Regions from separate parts of the Homo sapiens genome. Here all the other regions are linked to region 1. The links are contacts of gene promoters, found by promoter capture Hi-C in blood cells and fetal thymus (Javierre and others, 2016). All regions are on one chromosome and are shown on one strand. Each heading gives the region's core, a stretch centred on a gene start or on the middle of the fragment in contact. The rest is flanking DNA. Distances are from core to core; before and after follow the strand shown. Region 1 holds the start of DENND1A (DENN domain containing 1A). Region 2 holds the start of TTLL11 (tubulin tyrosine ligase like 11). Region 3 holds the start of NDUFA8 (NADH:ubiquinone oxidoreductase subunit A8). Region 4 holds the start of ZBTB6 (zinc finger and BTB domain containing 6).

What was found. The method cuts DNA at HindIII sites, captures the fragments that hold promoters and counts their contacts. A CHiCAGO score of 5 or more calls a contact.
Region 2: the fragment with the promoter of TTLL11 here is called in contact with the fragment with the promoter of DENND1A in region 1 in 1 of 17 cell types (total CD4 T cells); the score reaches 6.5 in total CD4 T cells.
Region 3: the fragment with the promoter of NDUFA8 here is called in contact with the fragment with the promoter of DENND1A in region 1 in 2 of 17 cell types (activated CD4 T cells and total CD4 T cells); the score reaches 7.3 in activated CD4 T cells.
Region 4: a contact is called between the fragment with the promoter of ZBTB6 here and the fragment with the promoter of DENND1A in region 1, in 1 of 17 cell types (non-activated CD4 T cells). The highest score is 6.5, in non-activated CD4 T cells.

What each region holds. Positions count from the first base shown.
Region 1 is chr9:123,925,520-123,932,495 of GRCh38, reverse strand. DENND1A (DENN domain containing 1A) reads left to right here and starts at 2,370. Exons shown (of 24, transcript NM_001352964.2): 1 at 2,370-2,607. The coding sequence starts at 2,591. RefSeq lists a silencer at 2,144-2,633 and enhancers at 2,984-3,183, 2,813-3,498, 3,434-3,513, 4,564-4,613. The HindIII fragment of the contact is 11,751 bases long and covers 403-6,976 here.
Region 2 is chr9:122,090,384-122,097,359 of GRCh38, reverse strand. TTLL11 (tubulin tyrosine ligase like 11) reads left to right here and starts at 4,052. Exons shown (of 9, transcript NM_001139442.2): 1 at 4,052-4,673. The coding sequence starts at 4,212. LOC124902263 (a long non-coding RNA gene) reads right to left here and starts at 3,228. Exons shown (of 2, transcript XR_007061757.1): 1 at 3,188-3,228; 2 at 1,960-2,186. LOC124902262 (a long non-coding RNA gene) reads right to left here. Exons shown (of 3, transcript XR_007061755.1): 3 at 6,081-6,323. RefSeq lists enhancers at 3,872-4,061, 3,811-4,524 and a silencer at 4,412-4,461. The HindIII fragment of the contact is 9,416 bases long and covers 1-6,976 here.
Region 3 is chr9:122,156,021-122,162,996 of GRCh38, reverse strand. NDUFA8 (NADH:ubiquinone oxidoreductase subunit A8) reads left to right here and starts at 3,218. Exons shown (of 4, transcript NM_014222.3): 1 at 3,218-3,370. The coding sequence starts at 3,320. It overlaps MORN5 (MORN repeat containing 5), which reads right to left and starts at 3,089. Exons shown (of 5, transcript NM_198469.4): 1 at 2,978-3,089. The coding sequence starts at 3,024. RefSeq lists an enhancer at 3,013-3,307. The HindIII fragment of the contact is 8,418 bases long and covers 1-6,402 here.
Region 4 is chr9:122,910,423-122,917,398 of GRCh38, reverse strand. It overlaps ZBTB6 (zinc finger and BTB domain containing 6), which reads left to right and starts at 4,076. Exons shown (of 2, transcript NM_006626.6): 1 at 4,076-4,148; 2 at 5,318-6,976. The coding sequence starts at 5,327. The coding sequence ends at 6,601. ZBTB26 (zinc finger and BTB domain containing 26) reads left to right here. Exons shown (of 2, transcript NM_020924.4): 2 at 1-1,833. RefSeq lists enhancers at 1,786-2,543, 4,012-4,241, 4,252-4,361. The HindIII fragment of the contact is 12,849 bases long and covers 1-5,692 here.

The DNA.
Region 1 (6,976 bases), core at 1,121-3,620:
ACTCGCCTTGGCCTCCCAAAGTGCTGGGATTACAGGTGTGAGCCACCATGCCCAGCCACTGGTTGCCTTATTAATTTTAATAATAAAAGCCAAACGGTGCTAAGTGTTTTGTATATAATAGTTGCTTTTAATTTTTGAGTACTTAATATGTGATAATCACTGTTTAAATACTTTATAAATGTCACTAACTCACTTAATCCTCGTGTCAACTCACTAAAATAGGTCTATTATTATCACCATTTCCATTTTACAGACAGAGAACCTGAGACACACAGAGAAGGAATAATTCACCCAAGGCCATATATTTAGTAAGAGGTAGAGCTGAGATTTAAACCCTGGCAGTCTGGTTCTAGAGCCTGTGCTCTTTGCTCCTATGTTACACTCGCTCTTATGATGGAAGCTTCTCATCACTCTCTCTGCCCATTTTACGGGGGAGGAAACTAAAACATACACTTGTCTAATCATTTGCATAAAATCTGCCAGTCAATGCTGAAGCCAGAATTAGAAGCCACGTTCCTAACTCCCAGTCCAGTGCTCTCTCCTCAGACCACCCTGCTGTCTCTGAGGCCACCTGAGCAGACACATAATCCCCACCTTCTACCTCCCTCTCCAACACACACACACACACACACACACACACACACACACACACACACCCCACCCAGCAGGCACCCAGACATATTTGTGGCCAGGATGGCTACAACCTCCTTTGAAAAGCAGCCAGCTTTGCCCTCCACCAATAACTTTGTTTTATTTATAGTCTCCTGCTCAGAGCTTTTGAACTGGCTCCCATTCCAGGGAAGATCTTGATAGCAACTGTTCCTTGGAGAAGTTTCATAGGTGAATAAACACCACAGAGCTCCTGCCTGTCTAGCAGAGCTTTGCTCCTGGGGGTGTTTACAAGTCGGTATTGGTGTCTGGGTGCATAAGACTTTAAATTCAAAATGACAGTTTGGACATTTTCACTTTTTTTTTGGTTTTCATTTTAAAAAGTTTACCCTTTGACTTCAACAACCTAAAGGCAGAGGCAAAAGGGAGAAACTATCTTTATTCAGAAGGTGACTCCAACAGAAGAAGTCTTCTACGACTTATCTTCTGGCTTTCTTTCCTCCCATCCTGGCCGGGAGCTAGGACGCAGGACCAGTTACGTAGAGGCTATGGGGTGGGGGTAGGGTGGGGAGGCACTCCATGCATTTATAAGAACTAAAATGGCAGAAGTGATGAATGGCATTTCGGGACAGAAAATTGGAAAAAAAAAAAAAAAAAGGAAAAAAAGCCTAATATTAAAAATGTCTTTGGACTTGTGGCCAAAGGTGCCACCTTAAAGCATGACTATGTCACAGGTGTCTGGAATGATTCAGTCTGGACACTAATCTTGGCTTCTTCACTCGTTGCTAGTTATGTGACCTTGGGAATGTGGCTCAGTTTCCTCTTTGTAAATTAGGGAGATGAACACAGGATTATTGTGAGGATTGGCACTAATGATGTACGGAAATACTGTGTCTGATGCAGAAAGGGCACTCACCCGCTCATTAAAGGGTGGCTAATGGTAGCTGTGATTATTGCTTCCTTTATGATCCCTCTGGCCCTAGAGGGGATGAAATTGAGGTGTTCATGGAAGTGAATCCCAAGGGGGAGCAGGGGTAGGTAGCAGGCTGGTGATCTCGGCTCTCAAATCCTTTCATTTGCATTGAGTTAATCTCTATCAGGGACTGTTGTGTTAACAGGAGGCTTCGATGTTGGAGTTCCCAAAACGGCTGATAAAGGGAGGCAGAGGTCCTCAGCGGGAGGGCAGAGCTGAGCCACCACGTGGGTCCACGAAGCCCCCAGGTGGCTTTCCTGTAGGTATGTGGGGTCTCCTTCAAGCTCTAAGGGGAAAGGAAGAGGAAAGGCCTTCAGATGGGGAAGTGGACGGTGTGATGGAGAAGAGGTTCTGCACGGAACTTACTGGAAGGTGCGGGATGTTAAAGGGAAAACGTGTTTTCATGGAGGCCTGGGCGGGGGATTAGCTCTCCGTTAGAGAGGCTGGGTGGGAGGCCTCCAATGGGAGGATTGGTGGCGGTTTCATCGGGAGGGCTTGGGGTCTCCATGAGAGGATTAGGGTCTCTTCAGGGCGGCTGTGAGTGGAGGTTTCCAGCGGGGCGCAGTGGGGTGCAGATGTGTAAGGGCCTGCAACGGAACGCCAGAGTCCTCCGGGGCCCGCGCCCTGGGAGACGTGCGGGTGACCGCGCTCCCGCCCCGCCCCCACCGGCCACGGCCCCGCCCCCGCGAGCGGACTACACTTCCCAGCAGCCCCAGCGGGCAGCGGCGGCGGCAGCGCGGGCGGGAGGGGCGGTGGTGAGAGGCGGAGGGGGCGGCGCGCGCCGGGCACGCGCGCCGGCGACCATGGCGTTCGCCGGGCTGGAGCGAGTACATTAACCCCTGGAGGCGGCGGCGGCGGCGAGGGAGCGAGCCTCGAGCGGGCGGGCCCCAGCCTGAGGGAAGGGAGGAAGGGGCGGGGAGAGCGCCAGAGGGAGGCCGGTCGGCCGCGGGCGGGCGGGCAGCGCAGCGCCGAGCGGGGCCCGCGGGCCCATGAGGAGGCCTGGGGACCATGGGCTCCAGGATCAAGTGAGTGCGGCCGGGCCGGGCGGAGCCGGGCCGGGCGCGGGGCGGCGAGGCCGGGCCAGGGCTGCAGGCCGCGGGCCGCGCGGGGGACTTGTTGCCGAGACCAGAGGGGCGCCCCGCGTGACGCCGGCACGCGGGGAGGGGGACGGTTGCTATGGCGATCCAGGGAGGCGCGGGGGCGGGGTGCGCGCGGGGTGGCAGGGCGCCGGGGGTCAGGTGTCCCCTCCTCACCTGGGGGTCGGAACAGCTGAGATTACAGGGCGGCCCCCTCCCCGGGTTTACGGAGAGCCCCTGAAAATGGTCCTTCAACTGTGGGGAAGGGGAGTGGGAAAGCCCCGGAAGCACCTCCCCATGTTTGGGCATGTTTGGGGCGCCCCTGAAAGTTGGCAGGTCCGGAGAGGTTGCAGCCTGGCCGCTTGAGGCCTGCGGCCCCCACAGAAGTCGCGTGAGGTTCTTAGAGGGAGGGGCCGCTCATGGTGTGGCCACCTAAGGTGTGGATGGCCGGGGAGGAAGGCCTGTCTCTCTATTTCCCCCCTCTTATCTGTGAAAATCTCCACGCAGCAAGGTCCAAAGGCTGTGAAGGAGGATACCTCTGTGTTGTAACCGAGCACCTGCTCTTGATAATCGTTGGAAAGGCTTTGTAACTCAATCTGGCGAATTCCCTCACTCATTCATTCACCTGGAGTTCCCGGTGGAGGGTTAGCTTTCCGGGGAAATTGTTGATACATGTAACTTCAGAATCCACTGAAACATTGTTGCTGTCCTTGTAGACTTAGAAGTTGACTTTGGAAAGTGCAACTCTTAAGCGGTCCAATTTGGGTGTGTGGCTTTCGACTCTATCTCCCCTCCCAGCCAGGTCCTCTTGTGGCCTCTCCCTTCCTCTGCCCCAGAACTGGAGATGTTTTATCTCTAATTACTAACAAATGTTCACTTTTTCCTCTGTGACTAATAGAATTGTTTAAGGGCATTAAAAAGCAAAGTTGACAGCATAGGCTTTTCTGTAAAACAACTTTCCTAGGACACTTTAAACCCTCTTACAAGAAAGTTTGTGGAATGTGTTTATTTCAGCATTTTGAGAATTGTACTAGGGAAGTTTGAAAGGAGAAGGGCCTTAAGGGTGAAACTAATAATTATTCAAACATTGCATCTCATGTCCAGGTGATGCCCGTGCAGTGTGACCCTTGCCCAGCCTTGCAGTCCCCCGTGTGGTTAGGCTTCTCATTTACAAAATATGTATGAGATGCGCTGCAGCAGCCTTGAGACATCTGCTGAATGAAACTAGAAAAGTTTGCTTATGGTAATGAAAATGGAAGAGTCGCATGAACACTCTGTTAAATCTTTATTTTTGTGGAAATGAGAAAAAAGTTAGAAGCATGCTCCAAACAAGAGCTTGAGAGGCTTGGGAGGTAAAAAGATGTCGTTTGTGAAACATTGGGATTAAAGAGGCACTCAAGTTTAGCTCCTGCTTCCAAGTAAGAGTTGTAAACTTGGATTTCAATAGCACTTAGAAACACTTTCCAGAAGCCAACTTAGAGTTGCAGAGTATGCGTGAGGACACTTACCCTTCTTGTTACAGAAAAGTTCAGAAACTTGCCTGACATGAAGCAGTGAGTGTCAGAACCAGTATTAAAATCCAGCAAGTAAAAGTTCAGATGGCTAGCCATCAAATCTCTCTGTTGCTCTCCAAGGTAGCAGGTTGACAAATACATTTCTCAAATGTGTTTTGTGGAACCCATCGCTAATTCTGAGCACTTGGGTTAGGGAATTTACTAAGGCATGGAATTGTATTAAGCGTGAAATGAGTATGAAGAATAGCCTTATTGATCTTGAAACTAGACTACTCTGTGATAAAAACTTAGGCTTGGGAAATATGTTAGCTTGTGGTGAAACCGAAAGAGAATATGAAGAGAGAAGTTATGAAAAGTAGTTGTGATTTATAGTGACTGTTGATTATGCAACTTCTGCCTGTAGCTAGGAATGGGGATGGACAGGAAATTACCCACTTAAGTGCTCCTCTAGTTGTTGGAGAAGACAGAGCTTTGGTTACTACTGGCTGGCTTTCCCTCCTGGCAGGGCATTCAAGATGTTCTCCTGGCTGTGGTGAAATCTAAGTGTGCAGGTTCCATTGAATAGGACAGTCTTGGAGGTAGGGACAAGGGGGAGGGGTTCCTTTTGTTTTCTCTTGCTTATCTCTGATGCAGCAAGTCAGTTGACTAGGTGGAATCAGGTCTAGGTTCAAATTCCAGCTCTTTTTAATGCTAATTATGAAACTTTACACAGACTGCCTTTTCAACCTCAGTTTCCCTGAAGGTAAAATGGGGAGGACTGTGTCCAGGTTGTAGGGTTATTATGAGCATTGAACACAGTATCAATGTAAATGTCAGGTCCATGTTAAAAACTCAGTAATTGTTAGGTTTTTTTCTTTTTTTTCACCTTCTGTATCAAAAGACTAAGAACATTACTGTATATTAGAAATGTCAGAGAAAGGTATGTTTAAGGTAATGGAGAAGAAAATTTTAATGACCAAGGAATTAGGCTGTTAACATGCAGAGTAGGGCTTAACATTGTCTCATTATTAAAAAATAAAAGTTGATTTAAAACAATATTGTGTGTAATTGTGAAGCTGGTGTCTGTTGTGTGATCAGTGGTAAAGCACGTGAGTTGCTAGGCACAGGTGTTGAGATTTCGTGTTTGATCAGACTTCTCTTTTAAGTTTAAGCCTGGTTGAACACAATCTCTGTCAGGTACCGTGGAAATCCTTAATGTGAACCATTTCATGAAACCCTCACTACTGTCCAGTGGTGGCGATGCTATTTATTAACCACATTTTTCAAATGAGAGAATGGGAGTTTATAGGCCTAAGATCAGATGCCATCCCCCAGACGCCTGCCTTGATGCCAGTTTCCTGTTGCCACCCCCACCCCCTCCTGTTCCAGTCTAGGCCAGGTGCCCTTCATCCGTGTTTCTGTGGCCCCTTGTGTTTATTGCAGTCACAATACTGAATCTCGTTTCTTGTCTGTGTCCCGTACCATGCTGGACATAAACTTCTTGAGAGGAAGGACTGTCTTATTTATCTTTGAGTTCCCTGTGTCAGACTCAATGCCTGGCACATGGTTGTTTGAGAAGAGTTCATGGAACGCATTTAAGAAATACATTAGGATCTATATTAAGATTCTAATTAAGACCGAGTTGAGTGTTTATCGAGTTAAAAAAAAAACCCTTGAGGAAGAAAAGTTTTATATTTTATAAATTTCTAAGGCAAATTATATGGTTTACGCAGGCCTTTTACTAGATTATTTAGTTCTTTTTTTTTTTTTTTTTTTTGAGATGGAGTTTTGCTCTTGTTGCCCAGGCTGGAGTGCAATGGCATGATCTTGGCTCATGGCAACCTCCAACCCCCGGGTTCAAGCGATTCTCCTGCCTCAGCTTCCCCAGTAGTTGGGATTACATGCATGAGACACCATGCCTGGCTAATTTTCTTTATTTGGTAGAGACGGGTTTCTCCCGTGTTGGTCAGGCTGGTCTTGAACTCCCAGCCTCAGGTGATCTGCCTGCCTTGGCCTCCCAAAGTGCTGGGATTACAGGTGTGATGTGAGCCACCGTGCCCAGCCTCATGTTTATTTTAATAAAGGAACATTGTCTTGCCTCAAATCAACATTTAATGGACAAAAAAAGAGAAGGTCACCAGTATGCAGGTAGCACCCTGGAAACCTAAATGTTACATCTGTATGGACATTTATCTAGAAGAATAAAAGGAGCAGTGGTAACTGACAATCTTCAACAGGTATTTTTAAATCTTATTTAGTGTTTGAATGATCCCAGTGGACTGGAATGTGGTTAATATGAAGCAATTTAACTGATAATGCAGACACACAGCAGGAAACTATGTGGCAGTTTAATATTGCTTGTGGTGACATCCTAGAAATTGCTTCCAGGCACCAAGTGCAGGAAGTGGGCTGTAAGTAATCGAAGGAAGTTTTCTAAGTGAGTTTGAAGAAACGTGACATTTATGGACTCAGAGAAAAGCATACTCTAAGACTTGAGGCATAGGAACAGGGCAGGGCAACTAATTTGGCCTTGTGGTGGTGATTATTCTACATTAGCCTGTATACCTGTCTTCTGTCCCTGTCAAACTGTGACCTCTGTGAGGTTAGTGACCAAGAAATTTATCCATTTATTCATCCATTTACCTACTGTAGAACTAAGAAGATTAAGCACATATTAAACAATAAATGTTAGCCATTATTATCATAATTAGTGGCAATACTGTGCCTGGCAGTGTGCTAAGTACTGGGGACACAAAGATGAACAAATATTTTTCTTTAAGGCTTTCTAAAGTAGTGGACACAAATGTAAAACAAAAACAATCCCT
Region 2 (6,976 bases), core at 2,803-5,302, 1.8 Mb after region 1:
AGCAGATGATTATCCCCTTCTTAAATCTTGCTTCACCTTTTCTTCATCTTCCCTCTCAGTACAGGGCCTCCATGAGCCCTGGGAGTCTTTAAGCCAATGGGCAAAAGCACCCCCATCCCATGGCCAAAGCCATGATGGGTGAGGCTTTGCACACATTGGATTTCAACGCCCGCAAGGCCTCTTGCATGACTGCAGCAGCCCTATCCATAGCTCTTCAGTGACCACCCCACCTAGCTTTCTATCAACCTGATTCCTACTCCACCTCGAAGACTCAGCTTATAGTCTCTCTCTTATAGGAAGCCTGGTCTAGCTTTCTAATTCACAGTAAATTCTCTATTTCTTGAGCTACTGGATGAATTTTATTTTTTACTCTTTGCCTCATTGGCACTTAATCATATACTCCCTCATGACACCTCCTATTTTCCTCTCTTGCATAATTATTTCATCTGAATAAGTCTGACTTAGATGAAGAGATCAGAGGTATCTGTGCAGATGTATCATTTACACTGAATAATGAAGGAGCAGTAGCCAGAGATCTAAAGAAAGGCAGAGGGCATGTGCAAAGGCCCTGAGGCAGAAGAGGTCTCGGGATGTGAAGCCAAAATGAATATTTCTATATGGGATTGTCCTTACAGATTTGACATATGAGGCTGAAAATGACTCATTCATTAATACATCCATACTACTTTGTTCATACTACCATGAACAAAGCAAGGGCCACTGTGTTCCAAGACCCAAGAGATGGGGATACAGAGATGAATCAGACAAGATTTGTTCTTGCCCAGACTAATGGTGGAGGCTGAGATGATTTCTAGATAGTGTGACAGACAGACCAGGGTTGAGAGTTGTGGATGAGAATTATGGGTGTGAATAGAAGAGCACAGAGAGTAACTATTTCTGCCTGAGGCACTGGGAAAAGTTTGTCTAAGAACAGACATGAAGGAAGGGAAGTCCAGACAGAAGGAACAATGTTTACAAAGGCATGGAGGCAGGGAGAGGGGTTGATTTCAGAAATTGTAATCAGGAAGGGCCTCTTAGGACAATCAATGTTCTTGGACTTTATCTGTAGATGGTGACAAACCAGGGGAGGTTTCTAAGCAGGAGAGTGGCAGGTCTGGTGTGGAGAATGGGTGGGTGTGTGGCAGAGCTGGAGGTGAGCTATCAGCAGAAGCCTGAATTGGGGTGGTGATGATAGAGATAGATAAGAGAGGAAAGAGGAGATCTCTCTCTCTCTCTCTCTTTTTCTCTCTCGAATGAGTCTCGCTCTGTTGCCCTAGGCGTGCAGTGGCGCGATCTCAGTTCACTGCAGCCTCTGCCTCCTGGGTTCATGAGTTTTGTGCCTCAGCCTCCCGAGTAGCTGGGATTACAGGCATATGCCATCATGCCCAGTTTTTATATATATATATATATATATATATATATATATATATATATATATATATGTTTTTTTTTTTTTTTTTTTTTTTTTTTTGAGACCGAGTCTCACTCTGTCGCCCAGGCTGGAGTGCAGTGGCGCGATCTCGGCAAATTTCAAGCATGGATGACTGAATGAAGGTAGTGCCACTTGCTGAGATCAAGGACACCAGGAGGAGGGACAGGATTTGGGGGGTAGGTTTGTGGAGAGAAATGGGGGGACAGTGAGGCCTTCTTACTGATACCACGGACAGCTCCAAGAATTTCCAGAGGACTTGCATCAGACTCTATGAGTGGTTCTTGCCTCCGCTGCCTTAGAATCAGCGGAGGAGCTAATTTAACATGCAGATTCCCAGGTCCACCCAGATGTGCTGCATCACAGTCTCTGGGGGTGGGGTCCAGGAGCCTGCATTTTAAATAAACACCCCGGGTTGTTCCCATGCAAGTGGCCAGACGACCATGCTTACAGAAACTCTGAAACAAAGTCATGAAGGGAACAGATGCGAGCGCCCTCTGCTGCTAAAAAGGAGGTTTGGATCTCTTAAGTTTATGACTTGGACATTTCAAGGCAGTTTATTCAGCAAGTGAAACCCCTGGACTAAAGCAAAGAAACAAGACACCTGGAGAGATGAGAGAGGAAGAGGGGCCACGTTCCTTGACAACTTCTGTGTTTCTTTCACCCTGTAGTGTCGAGCGAGGCAAAGTTCCCCTGTGTGCAGTCGTGGCCGCTGTGGTCAGTCTGGGGTGCTGTTACACCTTCTCAACCCCACTTCCTAAAAAAACAAATGCGGCTCCCTCAGGTGGGAGGGGAGAGCTTTCTCCTTGGTTTGGCTTTAAAATGATGGCAACTCCCAAAAATGGAAAGCAGGGGCTCAAACAGGTATTTGTATACCAATGTTAACCGACATTCTTCACAATAGCCAAAAGGTGGAAACAACCTAAGTCCATTGACAGATGAATGGATAAAAACGAGGTGGTGTATGCACACGACGAAATATTTTTCAGTCTTAAAAATGAGTGAAATTTGGACTCATGCTACAACATGGAGAAACCTTGAGGACATTATGCTACGTGAAATAAGCCAGACAAATACTGTATGATTCCACTGACATGAGGAACCAGGAATAGTCAAATTCATAGTCAGAAAGTAGAAATGGTGGTTCCCAGGGACTAGGAGAGAAGGGAATCCCGACTTATTGTTTCATAGACACAAAGTTTCAGTTTGGTAAGATAAAAGAGTTCCGGAGACCCATAGTGGTGCTGGTTGCACAACAATGTGAGTATACAGAATGCCACTGAATTGTACACTAAAAATGGTTAAAATGGCAAATTTTGTTATATTTTACCACAACAAAAAAAGTGATATAAGTAAAAGCAGTCAGGCTGGACGTGGTGGCTCACGCTTGTAATCTCAGCACTTTGGGAGGCTGAGGCGGGTGGATCATCTGAGGTCGGGAGTTAGAGACCAGCCTGGCCAAGATGGTGAAACCCCGTCTATACTAAAAATACAAAAAATTAGCCGGGCATGGTGGCCGGCTCCTGCAATCCCAGCTACTCACAAGGCTGAGGCAGGAGAATTGCTTGAAGCCGGGAGGCGGAGGCTGCAATGAGCCGAGATCACACCATTGCATCCCAGCCTGGGCGACAAGAGCGAAACTCTGTAACAACATCAACAACAACAACAAAACAAAAACAAAAACAAAAAAGAAAACAAGAGACGCGGTGGTTCTGCTTGTAATCCTAGTACTTTGGGAGGCCGAGGCTGGCAGATTACCTGAGGTCAGGAGTTTGAGAACAGCCTCGGCAACATGGCGAAACCACGTTTCTACGAGAAACACAAAACTTAGCCGGGAGTGGTGGTACATTCGTGTAGTCTCAGCTACTCGGGAGGTTGGGGTGGGAGGATCCCTTGAGCTCTGGAAGTTGAGGCTGCTGCAGTGAGCCGGGATCGCGCCACTGCACTCCAGCCTGGGCGACAGAGAGAGACCCTGTCTAAAAAAAAAAAAAAAAAAGAAAAAAAGAAAAGAAAAAGAAAAAATCGTTAATATCCTCAACTCGAGTGGGAATCTATAGGGGGCTTACCCATGCCCATGACTTCCCCATCCCATCGGGAGCTCCCTGAGAACAGGGAAAAGTGCCTCCCCTCTTATCTGGGGGCGCTCAAAGGACCAGCAGAGGGTTTCTTCAGCGGAACACTCTCTGCTCCCCTAGGGCCTGGGCTGCTCACATCCATCGCACTGAGGAGGGTCCCATCCATTGCACTGAGGAGGGTCCCATCCATTGCACTGAGGAGGGTCCCACTGGGGGGCTCCTCCTCCGTCCTATCGAGAGTTATCCCAGCGAGTGTTGGCGGGGACTGAGCCTCCTGCTTGAGGTAGTTGTTTTTACTCCCAGTCCCCAGGCTCACGAGCCCCACGCGCGCTCAATCTGCCCTCCCGCTTCTCCTCGCCACTCCGAGTTCTGCGCCCTCGAGATCCAGCGCATCCGCGGGGTGGGCGGGTCCTGGCGGCTCTTTGCCCTCTTCCAACATGGCCGCCGCTGCCTCTGTGACAGGCAGGGTCACGTGGGCAGCCTCGCCTATGAGGTCGCTGGGGCTCGGCCGGCGATTGTCCCTTCCCGGACCCCGTCTCGATGCGGTGACTGCCGCTGTCAACCCGAGCCTGAGCGATCATGGCAACGGGCTCGGGCGGGGAACGCGTGGCAGCGGCTGCAGCGGCGGCAGTTTGGTGGCGGACTGGGGCGGCGGAGCGGCGGCGGCGGCGGCGGTGGCACTGGCACTGGCCCCGGCCCTGAGCACCATGCGGCGGGGCAGCTCCGAGAGCGAGCTGGCGGCCCGGTGGGAGGCGGAGGCGGTGGCTGCGGCCAAAGCGGCGGCCAAAGCTGAGGCCGAGGCCACAGCGGAGACGGTGGCGGAACAGGTCCGCGTGGACGCGGGCGCGGCCGGGGAACCGGAGTGCAAGGCAGGGGAGGAGCAGCCCAAGGTCCTGGCCCCGGCCCCGGCGCAGCCCAGTGCGGCTGAGGAGGGGAACACCCAGGTCCTTCAGCGGCCGCCGCCCACGCTGCCCCCGTCCAAGCCGAAGCCGGTGCAGGGCCTCTGCCCGCACGGGAAGCCCCGGGACAAGGGCCGAAGCTGCAAGCGGAGCTCGGGCCACGGTTCCGGCGAGAACGGCTCCCAGCGGCCGGTCACCGTGGACAGCTCCAAGGCCAGGACCTCCCTGGATGCCCTGAAGATCAGCATCCGCCAGCTCAAGTGGAAGGAGGTGAGGCCCGGCCCGACCCGGCCGCGTGGGCACAGTGGGGTGGACAGGACGACCTCAGAGGTCTCGGCACGGCCCAGGTCAGGTCGGCGGGCGAGGGCTGAGCTCCTGCGGTGCACCACGCTCGGGCCTGCTTGTCAGCCGCAAAGTGCTCATCCTTCAAGGCCTACCCCCCAAAATCACTTCCTCCAAGAGGGCCCCCCAGACCCCTCCAGGTCAAGTTAGCCACTCACTCCTCTGCCTCCCTGCAGCTCTTTTTATGTCTCAGCCATCAGCATTTGCCTCTGCTTGTAGATATGTGTACGTCTGTCTCCTCCACCAGCTTGTAAGCCCCTGGGGCCCCGGACCCGCTCTCTCACTTCTTCATTGAAGTTATATTTGTTTAGCACTTGCTGTGTGACTCTTGGGCAGAGGAACACTTTTTATTTTGGAGGCAGACAGGCCTAGGGTCTCACTACACTTTGCTACTTAGCTGTGTGACCTTGAGTAAGTTGCTTCACCTCTTCAGCCTATTACCTTCTCTGTAAAGTGAGGCCAATTATACTTATCTCATCATCTTGTTAGCATTAGAAGACTCACTACTTAGTGTTTTATAGCACAAGTCTGCAATAAATGGTAACTTACGTTACCACCTTCTCCTTTCTCTCTTCTTCCACCATCATCACCATCACCACCACCAGCACCACCACTGTCCTCATGATCAGTGGTATAAAATCAGGCACTGTATTTTATATTCCAGGCTTGGCTTACGGCATGTGTCAGTAAGCAGTGAATGAAAGGGTGAATGAATACATGAGTTATCATCCCTGAGCCCATTTTAGACTGGCAGGGGATGGAATGTAGCACCAGTGACTCTAGAGGTGTCTGTTGCAATTGGCTACGTGGATAAAGCCATTTGACTTTATTTGCAGCATATAAGGTATTTAATGTGCTTTCAGGAGTGTCAGGAGTTTGATTAAGGATAGCTGAGTGTGGACACAGCCAGTGGTAACAGGGATCTGCTGCGGGTAACAGAGGACTCAGGTTCTTAGCCCTGTGCCTTGGCTATGGTAGATGCTCGGTAATGGTTTCATTAAGTTGGAACATACAGAGAGATGGCCACAGAAAGGACTGATGTGGTCAGAGGGTTGATGTCCCAATAGGAAAAAGTGCATTTGGTTTGGAGGGAAGTCAAGGATCAGGCAGAACCGACTTCCAGGTGGATAGGGTGTAGCCGTTGGGGAAGTTTGACTCCAAGTGTCTGGGCCCCCAGCCTTGGGGCTTGGGATTCAGAGGGGAACTTTCATGCTGGGGAAACTTGGGGAAAACAAAGGCAGGCTCTCAGTTCTAAAGTATCTGGGTTTCTAGGCAGGGCCCCAGGTCCAGGCCAGAGATATGAGGGCTAGAAAAGGTACAACTGGACAACTTGTCAGTGCCGTGGTCTTAATGAAGGGAGAATCCAGCAAATAAAACCAGGCTATGGAGTCAGGCTAGGCAGATTGGCCCAAGTGGGGCCTCCACTTAGCTTATCCCTGTGGGAGAGAGAGACATAAAGCAGGCCAGATCTCGTTTGCTCGGAGAGATGGGGCCAGATGGACTAATACATCCCAGCCCAGGTTCGTTCACTCATTCCGTAAATGTCCACTTTGGAGGTGCCAAGTTCTTTGCTGGGCCCTGGGAACCAAACATACTTAAGATGTGACCCTTGCCCCCAAGGACTTCATGGTTCAATAGGGAATAAAACACAAGTAAAGGAATAATTGCGGTCATTACAGGTCATTACATTGCTGCTGCATCCTGAAATTCTCCCTTTTCATTTATTTGCATGGCTTACTCTTGTCACTTCTTTAGATGATACCTTCCCCATCAATCTCCAGCCCTTGGTATTTATTTTTTTTCCATAGTACTAAACTTCGCCAGGCATTATATTATGTATTGCTTGTTTATTGTCGTTTCCCTCACTAGAATGTAAGCTCCATGAGGGCAGGGGCTTTGTTTTGTTTATTGCTGTACCCGCAGGTACTTGGCACACAGAAGTTGCTCAATAAATATTCGTTGAATGAATGAATACATTATGTGATGAGTGTTTCTGTGTGAAAGGAGAAATGCTGCGGGAGGTAGAGGAGGGGCACCCAGGAAGGACTTCCTGGAGGAAATAAACCCGAGCTGAGTTGTGAGTGCTGAAAATGAACTGGAGTTATTTAGGGTCATGGACTTTGGATCCCTGGTTGCAGGAGTGGTGTGGGCAAAGCAGAGGCCCTTTCAGGACTTTGAGTATGGCCGGATCATAGCGTGGGAGGTGGAGTGGTAAGAGATGGGGCTTCAGA
Region 3 (6,976 bases), core at 1,969-4,468, 1.8 Mb after region 1:
TTAAGTAGATACATTGAAGTGTAATTGACATACAATAGGCCACGTGTTTAAAGTGTACAATTTGACACGTTTTGACATCACCTGGGAAAACATCATCACAATCAAGACAAAATATCTACTCCCCACAAAAGTTTCTGCATGCCTTTCTGTAATACTTCCTCCTTGCCCCTGCCCACAATCCTCATCTCTAGGTGACTACTGATCTACTTTCTGTCACCATAGATTTGCATTTTCTAGAATTTTACATAAATGGAATCATACAGTATCTACTCTTTTTTTGTCTGGCTTCTTTCACTTAACATAATTTTTTGAGATTCATTCATGTTGTTCTGTGTACCAATAGTTCACTCCTTTTTATTGCTGAGTAGTATTCCAATGAATGGATATACCACAATTAGTTTCTTCATTCCCCTGTTGATGACATTTGGGTTTGTTTCTAGTTTTGGTTATTATAAATAAGGCTGCTATGAGTACTTGTATACATGTCTTTGTGTATATATACACTTTCATTTCTGGGGTAAATACCTATAAGTGGAATGGCTGTTTAACTTTTCAAGAAACTGCCAAACTTTTCCAAAGCAGTCGTACCATTTGATGTTCCTATCAGCCATGGAGAGTCTACATAAACTTTTTAAACCAAACGTTAAATATCAACTTCCTACTGTATAGAGAGGTTACTCTATTCATTTAAACTCCAAGAGGAAAATATCCCCTCCCTAAATTAAAAAAAATTGATTGAGTATCTACCATTTGTAAATAACATCCATATATGATCATTACATATTCCTTGGAACACTGCTGCTGAATGTGCATTGCTTTCCCATTTTACAGATGAGGAAACTGAGGTATGGATGGTTAATTAAGTGTACAACAAGCAAATGGCAGACTTGAGCCCAGACCTGTCTCATCCTCTCATTACATGCTGAAATTTGAGATGCCCCAAATAGAATTCTAGTTAACTGTTGTTAAAAATACAAAATCAGTACAGAACAACACATGTCCAACTTATGAAAAGAAGTATAACAAGTGAAAAACTGCTGACTTCTTGCTAGTTATGGGAAATTGGGAAGCCCTGTTCAGGTCTGGGAATCCCTATCGTGGTTACAGAGGTACCAGACAACCTCAAGCAAAGCCCAAATTCCTAGGGCCAAAGCATGGAAATGGCTGATTCAGCACACAAACCCAATGAAAATACACAGAAGGCCAAAGGCAAATGGTTGAAAGCCTTCCGTCTTTTACCTTGTCTGTGTGTTTCTCTCTCACCCATATACAGCCCATCGAAAATTAATGTAGTTTCTCAACTTTTTGTGCCTAAAATGCCCAATACCCCATCTCTATCTGCCAAAATTCTACCACCTTCACTGTAGCAGAGCCTTGTGAAAAGTAAGAATGTGGTTTGGACAGAGGATTGGGTTCAAATCCTGACTCTGTTACTTCCTAGCTGTGTATCCATAATGGTGGGCCAGTCATTTTGCTTCTCCTAACTTCTGTTCCTTTATTTGCAAGGTCAGCCTGAACTATCTCACTGAGTAGTGAGAGGGAGTACACACCAAGCACCTCTGCCACTTACCTGCTGAGTAGGATAAGTGTCTCAAGCCCTGTAAGGGTCACCTTTCTTACCTGGAAAGATAATAACATCTTCCTTGCAAAATTGATGTAATGATTAGAGAGATAGCATCCCATAGCATTCCTACCACCCTCTCTAGGAATCTATCTCCTATCCCTGTCCAGACCACAGATCCCTCTTTCCTATTAACTCAGAATGCCCTGGAATTCCACCAACTTGTGAATACAGAGCCCCAAGGTGGGAGTGCTTCACAGTCCCGACAACTAGCACTGGTTCAGCAAACCACTTCATATCGTCCAGCCTTGGTTTCCTCAGCTATAAAAACAGAGATTCCACTTTCTTCATCCAGGGTGGTTGGCAAAAAAGAGTGGCCACCTCTGTGTTTCCTCTGCTTCTCTCTACTACAGCTCTTACCACACTGAATCGCAGTTATCTGTTATGTCTACTTGTCGCATCATGTTTGAATGAACTTTCTGAAGACAGGGATTGTGCCCAGAGTCAATTACAGGGCCTGGTACTCGGTAGCCACTCAACATTGTTGAATTGCTGGGCACGGTGGCTCATGCAAGAGGATCACTTGAGCCCAGGAGTATGAGACCAGCTTGGACAACATAGCAAGATGCCGTCTCTACAAAAGGCGTTGAAAAATTTGCTGGGGGTAGTGGTGCACACCGGTAGTCTCAGCTACTTGGGAGGCTGAGGTGGGAAGATTGTTTGAGCCTAGGGGGTTGAGGCTGCAGTAAGCAGTGAACAGGCCACTGCACTCCAGCCAGGGCAACAGAGCGAGATCTTGTCTGAAAATAAAACAAAAACGAGAGAGAAAGAAAGAAAGAGAGGAAGGTAGGAAGGAAGGAAGGAAGGAAAAAAGGAAGGAAGGAAGGAAGGAAAAGAAAAGAAAAAAAAACTGTTGAATTGTTTTTTACTACTAGTCCACTACAGTGATTTGTGTATATAATCCTCTATAATAATCCCTAGATCGTGAACTCCTCCTGGAAGGAAGCGACCGTGTAGATTCAGATTAGCCAGTCTCTCTTCCCTAATCTTCGTGTTTGTTTTTATAGCATTTACCATTATCTGTAATTATTTTATCACTTATTTGTTTATTGGCAATACATCTCCAACTGGATTATAAACTCCATAAGAGCAAGGATCTTGACATTTTAAATATTCTTATTCCTATGTTTAAAACTGGCAGATAGCACACACACACAGTCAATGCACACACACATATAAGTATATATGGAATGAATGCATCTTAGCTTTGCTGCTTATTAGATATGGTCCTTGAAAAAATTACTCGGGCAAGTTTGTGAAAGTGCCTGGCACAAGGTGTTTCGCAGAAGCAAAAAGCCGTCTTTTTCCAGTCACAGCTATTCAAGGTATAGTAAGTGAATCAAATGAGCCCCTTACCTCCCATCTACATATTCCCCGATATATTTGCTCCCTGTGTACTCCATGGCGCCTGTTTTTAGCTTCCAGCTGTTAGGATCCGGAGTCTCAGTGGATACGGCATCACTATGACAACCTGGAGGGGTGGGCGGAGCCGAATCGAAGCCCCACCCCGCTGGAGGCTGAAAAGTTCTTGGTATTGCGCACGCTCCCTCGCTCGTGGTTGGGCAGGGCAATACGCCTGCGTGTTGCCGGATGCGCATGCGCAGGCGCCGTGTGGCACTCGGCGGTCGAAAGGGGAGTTCAAGGAGACGGGGGCGACGCGGCTGAGGGCTTCTCGTCGGGGTCGGGGCTGCAGCCGTCATGCCGGGGATAGTGGAGCTGCCCACTCTAGAGGAGCTGAAAGTAGATGAGGTGAGGCTATCCGGAGGACAGGCAAGGGAGACATGGGGCTGCGGCTTCTCGGGCCTGGGCCTAGCCCCCCTTGGGCTCCGCGGATCCTGGGACCCGGGCCCCCCTCCCCAGTCCTCCAACGCATATACAGGTCGACCCCCGGAGGTCCCCTCCGCAGCTTTGGGAGTCGCCTCCCCTCTCTACCCCACCCTGTCGCATCTTGCAGTGGCTCTAGAATCCTCCCCCTTTCGCCCTCCACAGCGACCTATTTCTCCTTCCGTGAATAATAGTGATACATTTTATTAAGCACCAACCAGTCATTTTACTTAGCTTATGTCGCTTAATCCTCAAACTTGCATGCGAGGTGAGTATACAACCCTAGGGGCTCACAGTCGAGGGAGACGGTCATCTACCTTAAAGTGGTATCACCGGTGCAGAGTGCATAGAGTGGGGTGACGAAGCCGCGGGAAAATGAGACAATATTGGAGCGTGCATCTACTCACAGCCTTGGGAAGGTGTTTGGTAACAGGACCCATTTAAAGCATTCGTTTATTCAAGAGATATCATTTCAGTAATTAACGTGTACACATAACGCTGGAAGAGATATACTTCGTGCTTTCATGGACTTTACAATCCAGTAGGGAGACAGACACATAAAGAGGCAGTCACAGTACAATGTAGTTAGTGCTGTGAGGAGTGAAGTAGAAACATACCCTACTAATTATAGCTAACATGATCAAGTCCTTTCTAGATACCAGGCAGGATGCTAATTACTTTCCATGCATTAATTCATTGAATCCTCCCAGCAACACTATAAGGTAGGATATATATATATATACACACACATACACATATATATACACACACACAATTGGTGTGTATATATATATACCATATATATATATACACAATTGGTGTATATATATATATGTATATACCATATATATATACACACACACAATTGGTCATATATATATATATACACACACACACACAATTGGTCGTAGCGTTATAAATAAGGAATTAGTCCCCGAGAGTAGAAATGATTTGCCCAAGGTCACGGAGCTCGTAAGTAATAGAGCTGGAAGTGAACCCAAGTCTGATTTTAAAACCAATGCTTTTCCACTATATTATGGGTGAAAACTCACAAGAATGAGACGGCCTAGCAGAACTTGTGTGTTTAGGGAGCCAAGTACAGTTTGATGTGACCCTAGTGGTGGTGGTGGGAAGCAGCAGGTGCTGAGCCTGGAGAGGCAACTTGGGCTGAGATAGGACTTGGAAGCAGCTTCTACAAGGCCAGACCAAACAGTTTGGACTTGATCCAGTAAGGGAGGTGGTGGGAAGAGTGGAAGGTTTTAAGGCAGAGGAGTGTCATGGCAGGGCTGGATAGTAGAACAGGCTATATTAAAGGAGAGGAAGGCCAAGACTAGAAATGATGTACCAGCAATGATATACCCGGCACTATGTTAAGTGTTTTGTTTGTTTGTTTTGTTGTTTTTGAGAGTCTCGCTCTGTTGCCCAGGCTGGAGTGCAGTGGCGCGATATTGGCCCACTGCAACCTCCGCCTCCCGGGTTCAAGCGATTCTGCTGCCTCAGCCTCCCGAGTAACTGCGACTACAGGCGCTCATCACCACACCCGGCTAATATTGTGTATTTTTAGTAGAGACGGGGTTTCACCGTGTTAGCCAGGATGGTTTCGATCTCCTGACCTCGTAATCTGCCTGCCTCGGCCTCCCAAAGTGCTGGGATTACAGGCGTGAGCCACCGCGCCTGGCCGTATGTTAAGTCTTCTACCTGCAATGCTTCATTTAATCTTAGATGCCTGTGAGAGTGGCAACTGTTATTTTCCTCAGAGGAAGAAATTATTAGCTATGTTCAGGGACTTTATTATATTAAAGTGACATTTACTCTGAGGTGGCAGAGGGGAGCTGCCATGTGGCCCCCACTCTTTTGTTCCCCCCGGCGAACCACCCCCCTGCCCCCACCCCATGTAGCTGGGTTAATCTTGAGTTGCTGTATTTCTTGTTGCAATTTTTATTAGGTTCAACAAACATCTGAAGTTCTACTTCATACAACTGATGTATCTGAAATACATTTGCCTTTAGTCTTCACACAATTGAATGAACATACGAATAATTACATAAATAACTAAAATACAAGACAAGGTGTGATTAAATACTATGAAAGGGGGAAGATGTGGTTTAGGAAAAGATTTGAAGTTGTATCTAAATTCTAGGCCTACCTGCCGGTCACCTTGATTACTTGATTTTAGCATTTGCAGACATGGTTATTTGTAAGATGAGGTGATCCCAGCTATAAAATTCTCTGAAACTATAAAGGGAATAGAGAAAGCACTTTTTGGACATAATGTAAGACATGACTAAATGGCATATGAAGAATGGCATTTATGGGCGGAGATGAAGAGAAGACCCCTCTAAGTGAGGGTAGGGTCTGAGCAAAAGTAAGGAGATGGGAAAATGCAGAGAGTCAAAAAGGAGTTCAGTGTTTTGAGAGAACAGTAAATAGTCAGTCCCTTTTTGAAATGTTGTGGTGAGAAGGGTGGAAAGATAGTTTGGGTCCAGAAGCCTTTCAGTACCCGTTAAGAAGTTTAGGCTTTATTCTGCTGTTAAGGCTGAATGAGAGTTTGGTTGCTAATATAATAGCAGAGTAAAATAAGAATTGTCATTTAGGGAGATCACGGTAGCAGCTGTGTGAAGAATGGATTGAAGAAAGAAAAAGAAAAGCAGGGAGACTAGTCTCAGTGGCTCTTAAAATTATTGAGAAAGATGTTAATGATCCCAGTGTAATTGGTGCTTACAGAGACTGTGCTTACAGAGAGCAAAGAACAAGTATATCTAGAATTGATCAGACTTAGCAATGGATTAGATATTGGAGGTAGGGAAGGTTGAAGAATCAAAGTCAGATTTGCAGCGTGGCAATAGTACTGGTGAAGCCAGAAAAAGGAGCCCGTTTGGAGAGCGAGTTAAATACATTTTGGACCTCATTGGCTTAGGAGTTATGACACATCCCCATTGAAAAAGCAGTCAGAAGCTTTGGACTGGAAAGTCCTTGGACACATTTGATAATTTTGAGTAAAAATAAAAATAGCTAATATTTATGGTGTGCTTTCGATGTGATAGGCACTGTTCTTATTATTTTTATATATATTAACTCATTTAATCTTCATAACAGTTCTATTAAGTACTATTCTCTGTTTTACATAAATTTAGGAAAACTCAAGGCATGGTATAAATAAAGTACTATAAAAAGAGGTACAGACGTAGTTTAAGGAGACAAGGACAGGACTAGAAGGTTGATTGGCTCTAGATGGTGACTTTGTCTCAGTTTCCACACCTGCAGACTGTGTAGCCCTGCTGTGCAATGAGGCTGTTGTGAGAATAAATGAGAAGGATGTTGAAATTCTGTGTTGTTTGAGACAAAGAGATCTGAATGAATTTGAGACGGTATTCATGGTAAACAGCTGTGAAAGGATGTTGTTTCTGTTGGAATTCATCAGTCTCAGTGAAGAAGCAGGTGAGGGGATATGGTGACATCTCAGGCTCATCCACCTCAGTGATGGTGATATAATGGGAAGAAGCCTGGTTGGAGGTCACAATCTCTGTGTTC
Region 4 (6,976 bases), core at 2,827-5,326, 1.0 Mb after region 1:
TTTAGGTAATAGTATTAGTAGAGTCCTTAGAGAATCTTAAGAGGTCATTTACTCCACCTCTTTCATTTTAAATTGGGGTATCCAAAGCCTGAAGAGGTGGCCTGGCCAATATTGACCAAGGTATAACTAAATATGAGCTAGCATCTTCTTCCTTCTTCTCGCTATCCCTTGGCTTTAAAAGATTTAGTACATGAAGAATAATGCATTAGCAAAAAGCTCCTAGTTTGTGTTTCCCCTTTGTGTCTCCCTGTTGGCTTTCTGAGACAACCTGAATTTTGCCAACAAAATATCGCAGAGGGATTTATATTAATTATTTTTTAGTTAGATGAATATTATATTCTTCCCATCCAAGTGAGTGATTTGCTAGGTTTGTTTAGGGAGGGAAAAAGCAAGAATAATGTGAGAAGAATCTAAATGCGAAGTTGATTTTGTGTGGAAAACTGTTTATTAGTTTCCATCAGGATTTTCTGTTTTTATTTTTGAGCTATGAGAGTGCATGCAGATTTGAAAAATTAGGCTTGCATAGTCAGAGGGGATCTTCAATTGTTATATTTGATACGTTTACATGTATCATTGTTATCATATGTAAATTATCATCATGTGAGTCAGATGTGAAGTATGATTTTTGTCTTTTGTTCAAATATTTAAAATGATAATACAGTTGAGTGGTAAGACTAATAGGTACCTTATGCCTAACATCACTCATTATATGGTCTAATGATGCTTCCTAGCATTGTGATTTTTACATGATCCAGCCAAAGAGTACCAATTCTATGCAATAGTGAGACTCTACCCTGTCAACCAAACAGCATTTTTTGGTATTTTCTGTCAACATCATTTCTTCACAGGGAAATTTCAAGTTGGAGTGCTTCGTTTGCTCACATTCATGTCTTGTTTTTGTTACTGGTTTGAAGACTAAAAGGCACGGGTTCAAATAAGATTGGTCTCTTTGGTTGGAGACTATTTCTGGGTTCATTCAGTTGTTCAAGAAACATTAGTTAAGCACCTACTGTTGCTAGACACTATGCTAGATACTGAGGATAATGAAGGTAAGATTGATATAGTCCCTGCCCTCATGGAGCTTATAGTCTCATGTGGTCTTAGTGAAACAAAGTCTCAATTTGCTTTTATACTAGAAATAATAAAGAAAGCTGCCTTGCTGTATTCGATCAGTTAAAATCAGCAACTTTGTGCTTTTGTATCAGTAAAACATTTAGTTCTCACCTTTTGAAAATGCAAACCACTGAAGTGATTTACAGTCTCCTCCATTTTTGGCTGGAGAGGTGTTCTGTTTCTGTGAGACATTTTTCTAATTTTTGTGGAACTTCACTTTCCTCCTTCTTTGCTTATACGTGTTTGTTAGATTATATTGCAAAGAAGTCAAGTTACTGATATCCAGTATTTTACAGAGGAAGATGACTTTCAAAACTAGTCATATTTCTGTAGAGGAGGAAGATTTTTAAAACCTTTATCATTCAGCATTTGTATTTTATGGATCCCCAGGAGAACTAAAAAGGAGATGACTCTCTACCATAGTTTGGTTTAAAAAAAAATTACTCTGTCAGTTATTTATTTATTATTTAATACTAAACTCCAAACTGAAGTGGCTCTGAGGTAAATCAGATATGATTTTAATTTAAGTTTCTTTATTAGCAGATCTATAAATGGAAGGTGACCAATGTCACTGCTTCTAAAATACTGTCCTAAACAACCCAGAAGATTTTATTTCAGCTCATGAATAGCTGTTCTAAATCTGTTGTATGTTAGACATACTATGAACTACCTCTTCACTTATTATGGGGAAGTTTCCTTAATAAAAGTGTGACGATTAAAGCTCTGGTGTCATTGGTTATTTTCTCACTCTCCCCTCCTTCTATTCTTTTTTAATTGCTTTACTTTGAATACAGGAAGGTCTTCTTTATGTATAGTCTTAAAAATACATATTAAGCATGCTGAGCTTGCCTTCAGAAAAAAATACGAATTAATCAGAAAGTTGTTACTAGATTCATTTACTTCCACGAGAACCTGTTGCTGGAGGAGCAGAGCAACTGCCTTTAAGAATTGGTTCAGAGGCGGCCGGGCGCGGTGGCTCACGCCTGTAATCCCAGCACTTTGGGAGGCCGAGGCGGGTGGATCACAAGGTCAGGAGATCGAGACCATCCTGGCTAACACGGTGAAACCCCGTCTCTACTAAAAATACAAAAAATTAGCCGGGCCTGGTGGCAGGGCATTAGTCCCAGCTACTCGGGAGGCTGAGGCAGGAGAATGGCGTGAACCCGAGAGGCGGAGCTTGCAGTGAGCCAAGATCGCACCACTGCACTCCAGTCTGGGCGACAGAGCGAGACTTTGTCTCAAAAAAAAAAAAAAAAAAAAAAAAAAAGGAATAGAATTGGTGCAGAGGCCGGGCGCGGCGGCTCATGCCTGTAATCCCAGCACTTTGGGAGGCCAAGGCGGGTGGATCACCTGAGGTCAGGAGTTCGAGACCGGCCTGGCCAACATGGTGAAACCCCGTCTCTACCAAAAATACAAAAAGTAGCTGGGTGTGGTGGCAGGCACCTGTAATCCCAGCTACTCGGGAGGCTGAGGCAGGAGAATTGCTTGAACCTGCTAGGCGGAGGTTGCGGTAGGCCGAGATCGTGCCACTGCACTCCAGCCTGGACCACAGAGTGAGACTCTGTCTCAAAAAAAAAAGAAAAAGAATTTCTTCAGTCATATCTTCATTCAGCACAAATACTTGATGCCTACCAAGTGCTAGACTTCGAGAATACAAAGATCAGTAAGCCACTGTCCTAAATAACTCTGCCTAGATGAGGCACAAATTAATACAGGCGTGTTAAGTGCAATAATGAAGGCAGGAAAAGGGATTACAGGTTTCAAACTGGGAACCAATTATCTTAGGGCAGTTCAGGATGGCTTCAGGATGATGAGATTTATAAACGGGTTCTTTAAAGATACGTTGGGGAAGGCCGGGCTCGGTGGCTCACGCCTGTAATCCCAGCACTTTGGGAGGCCAAGGCGGGCGGATCACGAGGTCAGGAGATCGAGACCATCCTGGCTAACACGGTGAAACCCCGTCTCTACTAAAAATACAAAAAAAAAAAAATTAGCCAGGCGAAGTGGCGGGCACCTGAAGTCCCAGCTTACTCGGGAGGCTGAGGCAGGAGAATGGCGTGAACCCAGGAGGCGGAGCTTGCAGTGAGCCGAGATCCTGCCGCTGCACTCCAGCCTGGGCGACAGAGAGAGACTCCGTCTCAAAAAAAAAAAAAAAAAGCCTGGGGAAAAGGCTAGGGCACGTCAGAGGAAACAGCTGGGCCAAAAGTTTTGGGATGGAGGAACGCATTTAAGTGTGAAGCTAGATCCAGAGGTTGGGGCCATCTCCTGATGGGGCATTATCTAGGCAATCTCGAATACGGATCTTTATGATAGTTTCTGCTCTGCCACCTTTCAAGTTGTAGGTGGCCCCAATAAGGAGAGGAATCGTCCCAGAATAATCCATAAAAGGTCTGGTTACTCTGACAGACGTGCCGTAACCGAACCTCAAACCCCGTCTCCAATTCGGATGTTCAGGAGGACTCACAAAAGGAAATGGCTCGGCTGGGCGCGGTGGCTCAACCCGGTAATCCCAGCATTTAGGGAGGCCGAGGCGGGCGGATCTCCTGAGGTCAGGAGTTCGATACCAGCCTAGCCAACATGGTGAAACCCCGTCTCTACTAAAAATACAAAAATGAGCCGGGCGTGGTGGCGGGCGCCTGTAATCTCAGCTACTTGGGAGGCTGCGGAGCGAGAGTCGCTTGAACCCGGGAGGCGAAGGTTGCAGTGAGCCGAAATCGCGCCATTGCACTCCAGCCTGGGCAACAAGAGCGAAACTCCGTCTTAAAAAAAAAAAGGGATGGTGGGGGAAAACGGCTCGAGTGCCGAAACTGGGACAAGAGAGATGGGGCTTGCCGGCATTCAGGAGCCTTTCTGTCATTCCAAGAGGGGGGAAGTGAGGAAGGAAGACCGTCTCAGAATGTCCTTCCGGGGCGCCTAGAGGGCCCCAGTAAAGAATAAAGCTGGTTGGCACCGGATGTGTTTTCTTCCAGGCTAAGTCCATCTTCCGGCTTGGGCAGACGCTGCCGCGGAATCCTTGACTCTAGTTTTCTGAGTCGGTGAGTGAGTGCAAAGTAGATTCCTCAGGTGGAGGGTGCCTGAGGAAGAGGAGGAGGAGGAGGAGGACAGCTGGGCTCGGCCCCGGAGTGGCTAATCTTGTGCTGCAACCACTGGGCCGACAGGGCCTTGGCCCTTCGCAGGGTTGCCTCCAGAATACCTGTGTGCTGAACCTGGCATCCGGTTTCAGTTCAGCAGATGTTCCCTGAGCTCCTCCTGCTCTGTGTGGGCCCCTGAGCTCGGTGCAGGAACACAGATGCATCAGGCACCATCTCGCGGTGCTCAGAGAGCAGCTGACTCTCTCTGGTTGAAACGGGAGGTGGAGTCATATTAGTTTTACTTGATTTGGGCTTAAAGGAGCCTAATCACTAGCTGAAAAAAGGAACTGGAAACGCGAATGTAAGAAATGTGTATTCGTGTCTTTTTGTCTGGGTAATGATGGAAAAATTTAGTATTGAACGAGGTTCGAGTATGAAAAAGAGAATAGAAGGTGATAAAGCCATAAAGATGGGTTAGAGCCAAATCGTGATGGGTCTCGTATTCTTTCCTAAGAAATCTGGACTGTCCCGGAGGTAGAGAAGAACGATAGAAGATTTAAAGCAGAAAAGGGAAATTAAAAATAAAATAAAATAAGGGTTGTTAATCCTGGTGGCACTCAGGCGGGTAATCTGGCATACAGAAGAGTGTGGTATAAAGAAGACCTGTTGGAAGACATTGCAGTTGTCCAGGTGAACCGGAAGGAGGACCTGTTGTAGTGGTGGGGAGTAGGAAGTTTGGAGATTACGTTAAAGTTGCTAATTGGATATATTATGTTAAATCAACTTTTTGGTGGTCACAGTGCTTATATTGGATATTCAAAATTGATAGATTGTTCTTGACCACAAGGCACACAACATTTAGCAAAAGAAACAAGCTAGAAACTGTTCACTACAATTCATTGTAATGAATGTTGTAACAAAGTTATGAAAAATGTGCTATGAGATCATAGAGAAGTGCATTATAAAGTTCTCGTTTTGAGATGGTGGCATAAAGGTTCATAACACCTACATTAGACTTTGAGTCTTCTTCTTCCTAATTCAGGTTTGGGGTTTTTCGTTTGTTTTCACCATTACAGCATGGGAAAGCATTCCCTATCCTTATTACATCAATGTTTGTGTTTTATTTTGCTTAGATTGTGATCATGGCTGCTGAGTCTGATGTTCTGCATTTCCAGTTTGAACAGCAAGGAGATGTGGTCTTGCAGAAAATGAATCTTTTGAGACAGCAGAATTTATTTTGTGATGTATCAATTTACATTAATGACACTGAGTTCCAGGGGCACAAGGTGATTTTGGCTGCTTGCTCCACTTTTATGAGAGATCAGTTTTTACTCACACAGTCAAAACATGTCAGAATCACCATCTTACAGAGTGCAGAAGTTGGCAGAAAATTGTTACTGTCTTGCTATACTGGAGCACTTGAAGTTAAAAGGAAAGAGCTTTTGAAATACTTGACTGCTGCCAGTTACCTTCAGATGGTTCACATTGTGGAAAAGTGCACAGAAGCTTTGTCAAAGTATCTGGAAATTGATCTTTCTATGAAAAACAACAACCAACACACTGACCTGTGTCAGTCTTCTGATCCTGATGTTAAGAATGAAGATGAAAATTCTGATAAAGACTGTGAGATAATTGAAATTTCAGAAGATAGTCCTGTAAACATAGATTTCCATGTTAAAGAAGAGGAAAGCAATGCTTTGCAGTCTACAGTAGAGAGTCTGACATCAGAGAGAAAGGAAATGAAGTCACCAGAGCTGTCTACAGTAGACATAGGTTTTAAAGACAATGAAATTTGTATCCTTCATGTAGAATCCATCAGTACAGCTGGTGTCGAAAATGGGCAGTTTTCACAGCCTTGTACCTCTTCAAAAGCAAGCATGTATTTCTCTGAAACACAGCATTCATTGATCAATTCTACAGTTGAGAGCAGAGTGGCTGAAGTTCCTGGGAATCAAGATCAGGGCTTATTTTGTGAGAATACTGAAGGAAGTTATGGTACAGTGAGTGAGATTCAGAATCTGGAGGAAGGTTATTCACTGAGGCACCAGTGCCCCAGGTGTCCTCGAGGCTTTCTTCATGTTGAAAACTATCTGCGCCACCTTAAAATGCATAAACTATTCTTATGCTTACAGTGCGGAAAAACATTTACACAGAAGAAAAATCTCAACCGACACATCCGAGGACACATGGGCATACGGCCCTTTCAGTGTACTGTGTGCTTGAAGACATTTACTGCCAAAAGCACACTTCAGGACCACTTGAACATACACAGTGGGGATCGGCCATACAAATGCCACTGTTGTGATATGGATTTCAAGCACAAGTCTGCTCTCAAAAAGCACTTAACCTCTGTCCATGGCAGAAGCAGTGGTGAAAAACTATCTAGGCCTGATCTCAAAAGGCAAAGTCTACTATAATTATAATCACAGACTTGTTATATAAAGTTTGTATTATTCTATTACGCAAGTCTTTCTGTAGAGATGCAGCATTTGTAATATTTCATCCCCCCAATCTTTGTTTCTTATATTTTGTCGGCTTACACATAATCATTCTTTCTGAACTTCTAACAGTTCCAAAGTTATGGGAGGCACAGTAAAGCTGATGGGATTCTGTCTCATCTCATACCTTACATATAAGTCTCAGTAGTATCCCTAGAGAAATAGTGTTCCTCTCTTATATATTCTTGATTCTAGTGACAAAGGATCCAGCAGTATTTGCAGATTCCGATTTGGAGTCTCTAGGTAATTGATTTAAGTATAAAATCCAATCATATAAAAACTTTAATGAATTAG